Linked DNA regions of Homo sapiens: regions 2, 3, 4 and 5 are each linked to region 1. The links are contacts of gene promoters, found by promoter capture Hi-C in blood cells and fetal thymus (Javierre and others, 2016). All regions are on one chromosome and are shown on one strand. The core of a region is centred on a gene start or on the middle of the fragment in contact, and the rest is flanking DNA. Distances in the headings are between cores, read along the strand shown.

Region 1 (2,572 bases), core at 37-2,536:
GCTCTAGAGTCAACAGTAAATAGTTCAGGCTTTGTGGGGCCACACAGTACCTGTTCCCACCTACTCAACTCTGCCCTTCCGCAGAAGTGGATGCAGAAGCTAAACAAATGTCCAGAACATACACACATATTCAAAATCAGTGCCCCCCGCCACGTACAAAACCACAAAAATCGCCTCAGAGACACACGTATAAGAAAACACAAAGGTTCGTCCTCACACATGTTCAGGGTAACACAATGTGGGTCTCACCTACACAAACGCGCGATCAAAACCCGGGACCCGCACGCCCAGATGACCGGGACGAGGCCATACTTCACATCTTCTCTCACAGACTCACAATTACGCAACGGTCACCTCAAACGACTTTATGGCGGACACTCCCGGACCTTCCGCTGTCCGCCCCTCCTCGTCCCTTCTCCCCGCCGGGGTGAGCCTCATCCACCCAGTCTCAACCCCGACGCAGTCAGTCTCACTGCCAGCCCGCCGGCTACGCAGGCGCAACACCGCATGGAACAGCCCCCAGGGCGTGCAGGGGCCGTTGGGAAATGTAGTCCGAGCGCCACGCAAAGGACTGTGGGCCTCTTCGCAAAACGTGCAGGTGAGTCCCCACTGTTGGCCAAAAGAAACATCCCTCCGCTGCTCTCCCGGGTCAGTTCATCTCCGACCCGGACAGAGCAGAACCAGCGCAGCCCAAGCCTTCTTCACCTCACGTTCTGGGTGGGACTTTCCACAGCCTCGCTGCACCCCGGTGGATTCTGGAGGTCGCAGGATGACTGCGTAGTGCGCACGCGCGGGTGGGCGGTGTCCGCCTCCGCGGGTGAGGCCGGCTCCAAACCTCGTGAATGTGGGGGCGAAGGACGCTGGCTGGCTGGAGGCAATAAGCCCTCACACGGGAACGTGTGGTTGTGGGAGCGGGGAAGGCGGCGAATTGGGGAGGTTGGGTTTGGTTAAAGAGCTCGAGGAAGGGCCTCAGTGTCCACACGTGATCTCCTGAGAGGATGAAAAGCAGGGCCAGGCGCCAGTCCCCTAGGAGACCGGTGTGCGTGCCAGCCTCGGGGGTGTGCGCAGGCGCGGGACCTCGCGCGTCCGCCTGCACCAATCGTGCGAACGCGCTTGTGCGTGTGGCGCTGAGGGGTCGGGGCCTCAGGCCGGGGCTGGTGGTACTGTCCCCGAGAGGCGGGTGAGCGCACGCCGCGTGGCCTTGTTTGGGGGCGGGGCCACGCGCCCGCATGCGTGGTGCGTGTGTGAAGGGGGGTGCAGCGCGCGGTCCCGGGGTCCCGGAGGGGAGTGCGCAGGCGCTGAGTCCCTGCTCGGCTGTCTCGGTGGTCGCCGCCGGGGTCTGAGCCCGGGAAGACCGAGGTAAGGGGGCTGGCGAGAGTGTGGGTGTGTCTGAGGGCGTGGGCGGCGCGCCCGCCACTGCGTGGACGTTCCTGCCAAGGCGCGCGTGGGTTTGCGCATCCACGATGGCGTGGGCGTCTGCGCGGGTGCTTGCGTGGGCGGTGGGCTCGCGCCTGCGTGGGTTCTCGGCCCGCCACGGCGTGGGGTTTGCGCCCTTCGCTGCTGTGGTTCTCGGGGCTTGTGCGCCCAAGTGTGAAGTTGGCGCCGCGTGTGAGGCGAGCCGTGTGTGCCTGTGTGTGAGGGAGCTATGTCGGGACCGCGGATGTGTATCGCTGCGTGACCCACGCGAAGGAAACAATGGAGCCATTGGGAAGCCGGGAGTGGGTGTGTGACGCTGACTGTGAAGATTTGTGTTTCTGGAGTGTGTGCGTGTGTCAGTGTCAGGCTGATGTGGGCGTTTATTGTAGCCTTGGGTTACTGTGTGACTTGCCTGGGCGTCTGTCTGCCACTTAGCGTCAGTGGCTTTGCGGTTATGAGTGTGTGACTGTGCCTTTCTGGTGTATATCTCACTGTAACCATGGAAATGGAGGCCCACAGGGGAAGAATTCTTAGCAGCTCTAAGATGTGATGGGCTGCCCTGGAAATCTGTGGAACTGTTTAATTGTGCATGACTTTCCTCCTTGGTAAAATAGCATATTAATAGCACCTGCCTGGGTGTTATTGGGAAGATTAAATGGGATGACGTAGCTGAAACACCCTGCACAGAGCTTGTCACATACTAATCACCGTGTTTAGGTGTTGGTTATGGTGCTGGTGGTCGTTTTTCTTTGACCCTATACAGAGGCAGAGGTAGTGGTGAATACTGGAGGACTTTGCATCTCTGAGCTTCGGACTGGGCTATCTTTGTCCACATACCAGGGCATCTGACCATCTCCAGTTGAGCAGTGGTGCGCTGCCCCCGCCAACCACCTGCGTCGTCAGTTTTCTGCATGTGTACATTTGAGTGGAGGACAGAGCCCTCCACTGACGCTAAGTATGGTTGTGTCCCCTTCCTACCAAGGTAGCTTGGAAAAATAAGAGCATGGACTGTGGCGCCCCGCTGTCTGGTGTTGACTCCTGGTTTCACCACTGGCTGGCTGTGTGACTGAGAGAGCTTACTTAAGTCCACCACTCCTCGGTTCACTTGTAAAACAGTAGTAATAACAGAACCAACCTCAGGTTTATGGTGAGCATA
Region 2 (2,572 bases), core at 32-2,531, 660 kb before region 1:
TCACTGTCACCCAGGCTGGAGTGCAGTGGTGTGATCTCAGCTCACTGCAACCTCCACCTCCCAGGGTTCAAGCGATTCTCCTGCCTCAGCCTCCTGAGTAGCTGGGATTACAGGCGCGCACCACGACACCTGGCTAATTTTTGTATTTTTAGTAGAGATGGGGTTTCACCATGTTGACGAGGCTGGTCTCGAACTCCTGACCCCGGGTGATCCACCTGTCTCAGCCTCCTGAAGTGCTGGGATTATAGGTGTGAGCCACCATGCCAGGCCTCTATTTAAAAAAGAATTTCTAATAGAGGCAGGATGTCTTAAAGAAAAATGGAAAATAGAAAAAAAATATAATAACATTTTCTTTTCTTTTCTTTTTCTTTTTCTTTTTTTTCTTGAGACAGAGTTTTGCTCTTGTTGCCCTGGCTGGAGTGCAGTGGCGCAATCTTGGCTCACTGCAGCCTCCACCTCCTGGGTTCAAGTGATTCTCCTGCCTCAGCCTCCTGAGTAGCTGGGATTACAGGCGCCTGCCACCATGCCTGGCTAATTTTTTGTATTTTTAGTAGAGATGGGGTTTCTTCATGTTGGCCAGACTGGTCTCGAACTCCTGACCTCAGGTGATCCACCCGCCTCGGCCTCCCAAAGTGCAGGGATTACAGGTGTGAGCCACCGTGCCCGGCCAAAATAATAAAATGTTCTTTGAGATAGGGGTTTTGCTATGTTCCCCAGCTAGCCTCAAACTCCTGGCCTCAAGCAATCCTCCTGCCTCGGCCTCCCAAAATGTTGGGATGATAGGTGTGAGCCACCATACTCGGCCTCTGCCTTACTCTAAGTAAAAGATGACAAGGTGGATTTATGAATGGTGGAGAAGATGGAAACTAATGGCTGGGTTTGAGATTCAGGAAGTAAAATTGGTGGGACTAGAGGGTGGAGAAAGATGGCAGTGTCATGAGTAGGTCTAAGGTTTATGGCTCATTGGCAAGATCCTCTGGGCACAATTTATTTTCATCCAGAGTAGAGTGAATTATGGACATGATTAAAGCTTGGTTCAGCAGAAACAAGTTTCTGTATCCTCAGCCGCAGGATTCAATGGCATTTTTATACTGATCGGGAATCTGTTGTTACAGGGAAGAGTGACCTTCGAGGATGTCACTGTGAACTTCACCCAGGGGGAGTGGCAGCGGCTGAATCCCGAACAGAGAAACTTGTACAGGGATGTGATGCTGGAGAATTACAGCAACCTTGTCTCTGTGGGTAAGGACGGCTTCCCGGGCAGGGGGACTCAAAACCTAAGGCGTGAAACACACAGACACCCCATGGCTGGCCAAATAGGGTTGGCACAGAGGTGCTCCTCACTTCGCATATGTTTTTGTAGAGCCGGGACTAGGGTGAGGCAAGTGAAGTGTACCAAGTGCTGTATTGAAGGAGCCCCCATTCTCAGGGTCGGCAAGTGCCGGGAGAATGAGTGAGGGCCTCTGTAAGTTTTGTGGGCTGGGTGCCCTGCCCTTCACCCTACTCCTGGTCTTGATTTTTGGAAAAGCTTTATCCTCCAAGAAGAAAAAGCATTTCTTTCTTTCCCTTCCTTCCCTCCCTCCCTCCCTCCCTCCCTCCCTGCCTCCTTCCCTTCCTCCCTTCCTACCTCCCTTCTTTCCTTCCTTCCTTCCTTCCTTCTTTCCTTCCTTCCTTCCTTCTTTCCTTCCTTCTTTCCTTCCTTCCTTCCTTCTTTCCTTCCTTCCTTCCTTCTTTCCTTCCTTCTTTCCTTCCTTCCTTCCTTCTTTCCTTCCTTCCTTCCTTCCTTCCTTCTTTCCTTCCTTCCTTCCTTCTTTCCTTCCTTCTTTCCTTCCTTCCTTCCTTCTTTCCTTCCTTCCTTCCTTCCTTCCTTCCTTTCTCCCTCCCTCCCTCTCTCCATTCCTCTCTCTTTCTTTATCTCCTTTCTCCTAACAGGGTCTGGCTGTGTCACCGAGGCTGGAGTGCAGTGGTGCAATCATAGCTCACTGTAGTATTTTTTTTTTTTGGAGACAGTCTCGCTCTGTCACCCAGGCTGGAGTGCAGTGGTGTGATCTCGGCTCACTGCAACCTCCGCCTCCCAGGTTCCAGTGATTTTCCTGCCTTAGCCTCCCGAGTAGCTGGGATTACAGACGTGCACCACCATGCCTGGCTAATTTTTGTATTTTTTGCACAGATGGGGTTTCTCCATGTTGGTGAGGCTAGTCTTGAACTCCTGACCTCAGATAACCGGCCCGCCTCAGCCTCCCAAAGTTCTGGTATTACAGGCATGAACCACCACGCCTGGCGTCACTGCAACATTGACCTGGGCTCAAGCCATCCTCCCACCTCAGCCTCCTGAATAGCTGGGACCACAGACGTGCACCACCACACGTGGCTTTGGTTTTGTAGAGACTGGGTCTTGCTATCTTCATGTTACATGTAACATGTTGGTCTCAAATTCCTGTGCTCTAGCAATTCTCCTATCTCGGCCTCCCAAAGTGCTGGGATTACAGGCATGAGCCGCCACACCCAGCCCAGAAAAAGCATTCTTTGTTTAGTTCGACTGCTCAGGTGCATTCCCTCAAACCATCCATCC
Region 3 (2,572 bases), core at 27-2,526, 620 kb before region 1:
GGAGTAGTCTGAAGCCTGGACACACTTATCCACAGACTCATTTGATTTGGTCAGCATGGTCTTTAGGAAGGAATAAATACATGACCTTCTTAAACATAAAATTTGGAAGATTTCACTTAAAGGAATCCAGATTTCTGGGTTTTGTGACCCATGTTCCTATGCGGCAGCCACAGGTTGGAGCAGAAGAGCAGGGAGCCCCTTTATTTATTTATTTATTTATTTTTATTTTATTAATTTTTTATTTTTTTGAGACGGAATCTCGCTCTGTCGCCCAGGCTGGAGTGCAGTGGGGCGATCTTGGCTCACCGCAACCTCCGCCTCCCAGGTTCAAGCGACTCTCCAGCCTCAGCCTCCAGAGTAGCTGGGATTACAGGCATGAACCACTACACCCGGCTACTTTTTGTATTTTTAGTAGAGACGGGGTTTCACCATGTTGGCCAGGATGGTCTTGAACTCCTGACCTCAGGTGATCCACCCGCCTCAGCCTCCCAAAGTGCTGGGATGGCAGGTGTGAGCCACTGCGCCCGGCCAGGGAGCCCCTTTAGATGGGATGGGGAGGGACCTCCGATCAGGGCTGCCCACTCACTCCTCCTCCCTCTGCTTCCCTTCCCTCTTCCATCTCCCTCCCCCATCCCCCCCATCCTTCATTCATCTACCTGAGGTGCCTGACCCTGGTAGACAAGGAAGATATTAAAAATGTTTAACAAGGGTGGGGCAGTAGCCAATCCTGATGAAGCCCTGACCAATGATACACGAGCCCCAGCTGGGAGCTATTGGTACCATCTGTAGCTCCTGTGGACATTGACATTTAAATTGATTTAACCTTTTTTTTATTTTTTATTTTTTGAGACGAAGGCTCACTCTGCCACCCAGGCTGGAGATCTCGGCTCACTGCAACCTCTGCTTCCCAGGTTCAAGCGATTCTCCTGCCTCAGCCTCCCAAGTAGCTGGGGTTACAGGCGCACACCACCATGCCCGGCAAATTTTTGTATTTTTAGTAGAGATGGTGTTTCACCATGTTGGCCAGGCTGGTCTTGAACTCCTGGCCTCAAGTGATACACCCTCCCTCGACTTCCCAAAGTGCTGGGATTACGGTCCTGAGCCACCGCGTCCGGCCAGACTTATAATTTTAAAAAGGAAAAACCAGGGGCACCCCACCGCCTGGGGATCGAGGGGAGCCCAGCATAGGGAGGGAGAGGGAGCCAGGGTTATAACGTCCACATTCATACAACCTCAGCCTTGACCACTACGTGCGGATCATGGCGGTAGCGACCCGGCAGGAAACACAGCGAGCGAGCTGATTTGTGATCATGGTCGGTGCTCCGAAGAACAGACAACGAGGCGTGGAGCGCGTGCCGGGTGCGATCCTGGAAGGCTCCTCAGAGGAGGTGACATCTCGCTGGGCCTGGCGGCCCTGACGTCCAGCGGCGATGGCGGTCCATGGCCACCAGGTGGCGCCGCGAGAACGTGGCTGAAGCAGCTAGGCCGCGTTCCTGCGATCTGACTGTGCAGAGAGCTGTGGCTCCAGGTTTATCTCAAAGCATTTTTCTCAGCAGATGAACTTAGGGAGGGAGGCAGGAGAGCAAATTCCCCTCACTGCCCATGTGTCAGTTTTATTGTACCTTAACGGTAGTCAGTGCTGCAGCAGCCGAGAGCCCGGGCCCCCAAATTTGGGTTTACGGGCTGGCTCCAACCCAAACCAGCGTGTGTGTCCCTGCCATGGGCGTTTTATGTATTTATTATGTATTTGTTTTTCTATTGAGACAGGGTCTCACTCTGTGGCTCAGGCTGGAGTACAGTGGCGCTGTCTTGGCTCACTGCAGCCTCCCCAGCTTGAGCAATCCTCCTGCCTCAGCCTCCCGAGTAGCTGGGACTACAGGCCTGCACCACCACACCCAGCTAATTTTTGTATTTTTTGTAGAGAAGGGTTTTTGCCATGATGCCCAGGCTGGTCTTGAACTCCTGGGCTCAAGTGATCTGCTCACCTCTGCCTCCCAAAATGCTGGGATTATAGATAGGCATGAGCCACCACACTTGGCAATTATTTATTTATTTTTATTTTTACGGTTTTTTAGAGTCAGGGTCTCACTCGTTGCCGAGTCTGGAGTGCAGTGGCAAAATCTTGGCTCACTGCAACCTCTGCCTCTTGGGTTCAAGCAATTATCATGCCTCAGTCTCCTGAGTAGCTGTGACTACAGGTGCTCACCACCACGCCTGGCTAATTTTTGTATTTTTTAGTAGAGATGGGGTTTCACCATGTTGGCCAGGCTGGTCTCGAACTCCTGACCTCAAGTGATCCACCTGCCTCAGCCTCCAAAAGTGCTGGTATTACAGGTGTTAGCCACCGTGCCTGGCCAGTTCACTAATATTGAGATAAATCATACTCGTGTAAGACGCTACTAACAGGGGAAGCTGGGTGCAGGAACAAGGAAAACTTTCTATTCTCTTTGCAACTTTTCGCCAAATCTAAGTCGATTCTAAAATAAAAGTTGATTCTTTTTTATTGTTTATCTGAAATCCATATTTAACCAGGCAATTTGTATTTTTATTTATTAAATTGGGCAACCCCAGT
Region 4 (2,572 bases), core at 28-2,527, 580 kb before region 1:
CCACATTTTCTTTATCTAGTCTACCATTGATGGGCATTTACATGGATTCCATGTCTTTGCTGTTGTGAATAGTGCTGCAATAAACATACGCATGGGGCTTTTAGGAACAGATTTCCGTCGATCTCTTCCCAGTTCTTTGTCTAGGTTGCCATTCACCTTCACGCCTCCTCCACCCTCAGATTACTCTGTATCTTGTCAGAAATGCACACATGAGGCATTTGACAGCACAGACTCACTCTCCAACCCTGCCAAGAGAGTTGCTCTTTCAGGACCTCCATTTCTCCACTTTGGACAGGGGATAAGAATGATTCCCACCTCCCAGGCTCCCCCAAAGGTTAAAGTAGGAAATGGGGTTACCATGCTCGGCATGTGGCTGGGAGTTGTGTGTCTTAGAGTGTGTGTGAATGTGAGTCGGTGAGAGGTGATCCTAATTACTGAATGGGATTTAATCATCCCTTGCTCTTGTGTAGCAGAAATCTTAGTCTAATTCAGGGTTCTATGCTGTTAGAGGCTGCTATGACCTCAATGGTGCTCCTTGACCAAAATTTACATTGAAGCTCTAACCCCCAATGTGACTGTATTTGGAGACAGTGCTTTTAGAGAGGTAATTAAGATTATATAAGCTTCATAAGGGTGGGCTTTTAAGTCAATATAACCGGTATCTTCATAAGAAAAGGGACACCAGTTCAGGTCTCTTCCCCTACCCCACCACCTCTGCCATGTGAGGACACAGCAAGAAGGTGGCCATCTGCAAGCCAGGAAGAGAGTCCTCACCAGGAACAGAATTTGCCAGCACCATGATTTTGGACTTGCAGCCTCCAGAACTGTAAGAAAATACATTTTTGTTGTTTAAGCCACTCAGTCTGTGTGATTTTGTTATGGCAGCTGGAGCTAATGAACACAGGACCTAGGCTCCTTCTGTCTTGTTATTCTGAATTCTTCACCAGGTGGCTTCTACCTCACTGTCTAGAGAGCTGGCTGAATTCAGGCAGCATTTCTGCCTTCTAGCTAAGAGGAAGAGAGGTGAGGCAAAGAAAGATTCCACCCCCAATATTCCCTTTAAGGCTTCTCTTAGTCCACACTCCATACATGTGCTTTCATCCTATTGGCCAGACCTTGGTTGCATGGCCACATCTAGCTACAAGTGGTGCAGATATTTGGCCCAATCCGAACACAAGCTTGAATGGGAAATTATAGATAGGCTCTATACGTCATAAAGAGCTGTTAGTTTGGGAATTTCTAGGTGAAGGCTCCTTTAGGTGGTTGACCTCAAATATATTACTGGTGATTTCTGAGATGTCATATTTATCACTCGTAATTCAAAGATGGGTGCTTACAATAAAACGATTCTAGGTGGGAAAATGCCTGTAAGCTTTGCTTACCACGGAAGGAAGCTCTTAGATAAAGGGACCAAAGACATAATTATAGGCTTTATGAATATTTTATGCTCTTCCCAAGAAACCAGTAGATTTTTGCAGCTCTGAGTATACTGAGAATTAAGCAAAATTTTTCATTTTCAATTCTCTCTTTCTTTTAAATGTGCTTCAGAATAAGAATTAAGTATGCTTAAAAAAAAACTTTTTCCAGAGGGCAGCAGGGTTTAGAATAGCAGAGTGACATGGTCAGATTTGCAATTTAGAAAGTTTACTTGACATTTAATGGGAGAAGTGATCAGTGGGATAGATGTTACCTGTCTGTTCACTTTTCAGAAATTTTGCCCCATCTGTGTTAAGAACTAGGCCATGAGGTGCTATTTACCGTTGTTCTATAACATAAACTTTTATTTTTATTTATTTGTTTATTTATTTGAGACAAAGTCTTAGTCTATTGCCCAGGTTGGAGTGCAGTGGTGTGATCTCAGCTCACTGCAACCTCCGCCTCTCGGGTTCAGGTGATTCTCCTGCCTCAGTCTCCTGAGTAGCTGGAACTACAAGTGTGTGCCACCAGGCCCACCTAATTTTTGTATTTTTGGTAGAGACAGGGTTTCACCATGTTGGCCAGGCTGGTCTTGACCTCAAATGATCCGCCTGCCTCGGCCTCCCGAAGTGCTGGGATTACAGGCATGAGCCACTGCACTTGGCCTATAACATTAACTTTAAACACCCGAGTGAGAATCATTTTAAAGTTTTGATATCATGAATATGCATGGAAAGCCAGCGTCACCTCCCTTAAGTGGAAGACAGAGTAAAAGAAAGAACAATGATAAAAAACAGCAACAGCAACAACAACAACATGCACAAGTGTGCCTAAACCAGTGGTTCTCAAACAGGGGTGGCTTTGTCTACTTGGGGACATCTGGAAGTGTCTGGAGATGTCTTTAGTTGTCACACGTGGGGAAGAGGGCCTTGCTCCTGCCATCCAGGGGGTAGAGACCAGGGGTGCTGCTTATCAGCTTACAGTGCAGAAGACAGCCCTCCTGCCCACCCACCAAACAATTATTCAGCCCAAAATGTCCACAGTGCTGAGACTGGAAACCCTGGGTTAGATGCCATCGCCTGCCAATGATCTGAGCAAAGCTCTCCTTTGTTTAAAAAGTAATTAGCAAGTGTGACGGAAATGTTGAAGGCACACC
Region 5 (2,572 bases), core at 35-2,534, 530 kb after region 1:
TCTGTCTCAGAATATCTCAGTGTACTGTACTCATCTATTTTTGGCCATGATCAACCCAAACTTCAGAAAGCAAAACCTTGGATAAGGGGATGACTGTAGTCCAGCTCTGCTTTATTCATATTGAAGATGAGGTTTTGGATTACAATATCCTCCAGTGGGATTCACCCTTTGTTGCTGCGAAATGGCCTTTTAAAGTGTTTAACCTTCTTGCTTTAAATATAGCACTCCTGACATCACCATAGCTATACCAGCTGTCTTCTGCTGTTTCCATAGCATATGCTTTTCCACTATTTTACTTCCTACTTCTCTATGACTTCATTTAACGTTCACCTCATATAAGCAGTATTCAGTTAAGTTTTTAAAAAATAGGCCCATATGGGCTGGGCACAGTGGCTCACACCTGCAATCCCAGCACTTTGGGGGGCCAAGGCAGGCGGATTACCTGAGGTCAGTAGTTCGAGACCAGCCTGGCCAACATGGTGAAACCCCGTCTCTACTAAAAATAAAAAAAAATTACCCAGGCATGGTGGTGGGTGCCTGTAATCCCAGCTACTCAGGAGGCTGAGGCAGGAGAATCACCTGTACCTGGGAGGCGGGGTTTGCAGTGAGCCGAGATTGTGCCATTGCACTTCAGCCTGGGCAAGAAGAGCGAAACCCCATCTCAGAAAAATAAAATTAAAAAAATGCCCGTATGACAGTCTTTGCCTTTGGGTTAGATCCATTATCTTCCTCCACTGTTTGCTTTCTTGCTCAGAAGGCCAATAAGTGATAGGGGTGGTGACTAGAGTAGTTTAGCTGCCCAGCAGCCAAGCCCACCCCCACTTTATCCACCAGATCAACACTCACCATTTATCTCTCTGCGGACTACAACACACATTTTATCACAGTTCATAATGGCAAAGATGTTCGAAGTCACATCCCAAGCGCGTCGTCCAGGGAAACGCTCTATCAAGAGATGAACCACCTCTGCCCAGCTGGCTGTCTCGACCTGGTCCCAGGTGATGGGCATGGTGCCAGTACTGAGCTCAGTCAGTAAGAGCTGCTTGAACCGTTGTAGCTCCTCATGGCTCACGTTTCTCATGTACAGCATGACCCCATTTTCACATGGGGAGCCGGGGTAGCAAGAGAATGTCCAGGGCGGAATATGAGAACTGTGAGTGGAGGAGGATGAAAAGGGAATGGGGGTGTCAGAGGGTGGATTCACGTCACTCATCTTTAGTCAAGGCAGAGAACACCTCAGTGTCCACGATAAAGACAACCGATTGGAAGAGAGAAACACGAGACCTGCAGAGACATAAAACAATAAAACAAGAAGATGAAAACACTACCCAAGAAAACAGATTCGTGTAATGCTTACTTGGCAGGTATTCTGCGTGCCGGGTACTCCCTTTACCTCCTTTCCTCAAAGATTCTCTGCCCTATGGAAAAACTGAAGATGCATGGAATGTTTGGGATTAGTCCATTAGACTAATGGATTGTTTGTAGTTTCTATTCTCCATGACTTCTTTTGGGGAAGAGGCAAGCAAAATATCAAAGCCTTCACAAAAGGTTTAGCGAAAAGAAAAATTAGAAGCAGGTAAAATAATTCAGTGAAGCTAAAATCTAGAAAATATATGGTTGGTTAGAAGGCTCCATTAGATTAAAAGTGATCTCAAATTCAACAAAGTTTTTATTCTTAAAAAAATGGATCATGTATTAGAGAGATGCAAATCAAAACCACAACGAGATGTCATCTCACACCAGTCAGAATGGTGATTATTAAAAAGTCAAGCAATAACAGATGCTGTATTCTTAAAAAATGGATCATGTATTAGAGAGATGCAAATCAAAACCACAACGAGATGTCATCTCACACCAGTCAGAATGGTGATTATTAAAAAGTCAAGCAATAACAGATGCTGGTGAAGTCGCAGAGAAAAAGGAACACTTATACTCTGTGTGTGGGAGTGTAAATTAGTTCAACTACTCTGGATGACAGTGGGGCAACTCCTCAAAGACCTAAAAAGAGAACTACCATTCAACTCAGCAATCCCATTACTGGATATATATCCAAAGGAATATAAATCATTCTATTATAAAGACACATTCCTGTGTATGTTCATTGCAGCACTACTCACAATAGCAAAGTCATGGAATCAACCTAAATGCCCATCAGTGATAGACCGGATAAAAAAATGTGGTACATAAACACCATGGAATACTATGCAGCCATAAAAAAGAATGAGATCATGACCTTTGCAGGAACATAGATGGAGCCAGAGACCATTATTCCTTAGCAAACTAACACAGGAACAGGAAACCAAATACCACATGTGCTCATTTATAAGTGGTAGCTAAACGATGAGAACACATGGACACATAGAGGGAACACCACACACTGGAGTCTGCTAGAGGCTGGAGGGTGGGAGGAGGGAGAAGATCAGGAAAAATAACTAATGGGTACTGGGATTAATACCTGGGTGATGAGATAACCTGTACAACAAACCCACCCCCATAACACGTTTGCCTATATAACAAACCTGCACATGTACCCCTGTATCTAAAAGAAATGTAAAAAAGAAATAAAATAAAA

Evidence for each region. Contacts are between HindIII fragments. The CHiCAGO score rates a contact against its expected background, and 5 or more counts as called.
Region 2: a fragment that was not itself captured here is called in contact with the fragment with the promoter of ZNF667 in region 1 in 1 of 17 cell types (naive CD4 T cells); the score reaches 5.3 in naive CD4 T cells.
Region 3: a fragment that was not itself captured here is called in contact with the fragment with the promoter of ZNF667 in region 1 in 1 of 17 cell types (non-activated CD4 T cells); the score reaches 5.5 in non-activated CD4 T cells.
Region 4: a fragment that was not itself captured here is called in contact with the fragment with the promoter of ZNF667 in region 1 in 4 of 17 cell types (total CD8 T cells, activated CD4 T cells, naive CD4 T cells and 1 more); the score reaches 5.9 in total CD8 T cells.
Region 5: a contact is called between the fragment with the promoter of NLRP8 here and the fragment with the promoter of ZNF667 in region 1, in 6 of 17 cell types (naive CD8 T cells, monocytes, M0 macrophages and 3 more). The highest score is 8.9, in naive CD8 T cells.

Annotation. Positions count from the first base shown.
Region 1 is chr19:56,476,059-56,478,630 of GRCh38, reverse strand. ZNF667 (zinc finger protein 667) reads left to right here and starts at 1,286. Exons shown (of 7, transcript NM_001321356.2): 1 at 1,286-1,359. It overlaps ZNF667-AS1 (ZNF667 antisense RNA 1), which reads right to left and starts at 757. Exons shown (of 2, transcript NR_036521.1): 1 at 250-757. The HindIII fragment of the contact is 7,484 bases long and covers 1-2,572 here.
Region 2 is chr19:57,137,142-57,139,713 of GRCh38, reverse strand. It overlaps ZIM3 (zinc finger imprinted 3), which reads left to right. Exons shown (of 5, transcript NM_052882.1): 3 at 1,116-1,242. Among named protein-coding and RNA genes, the nearest start is that of ZIM3, 6.8 kb to the left of the region's middle. The HindIII fragment of the contact is 498 bases long and covers 1,033-1,530 here.
Region 3 is chr19:57,098,247-57,100,818 of GRCh38, reverse strand. No RefSeq gene overlaps it. Among named protein-coding and RNA genes, the nearest start is that of USP29, 20 kb to the left of the region's middle. The HindIII fragment of the contact is 7,444 bases long and covers 1-2,572 here.
Region 4 is chr19:57,053,757-57,056,328 of GRCh38, reverse strand. No RefSeq gene overlaps it. Among named protein-coding and RNA genes, the nearest start is that of USP29, 65 kb to the left of the region's middle. The HindIII fragment of the contact is 194 bases long and covers 1,181-1,374 here.
Region 5 is chr19:55,946,544-55,949,115 of GRCh38, reverse strand. NLRP8 (NLR family pyrin domain containing 8) reads right to left here and starts at 1,284. Exons shown (of 10, transcript NM_001433706.1): 1 at 847-1,284. The coding sequence starts at 1,213. The HindIII fragment of the contact is 8,931 bases long and covers 1-2,572 here.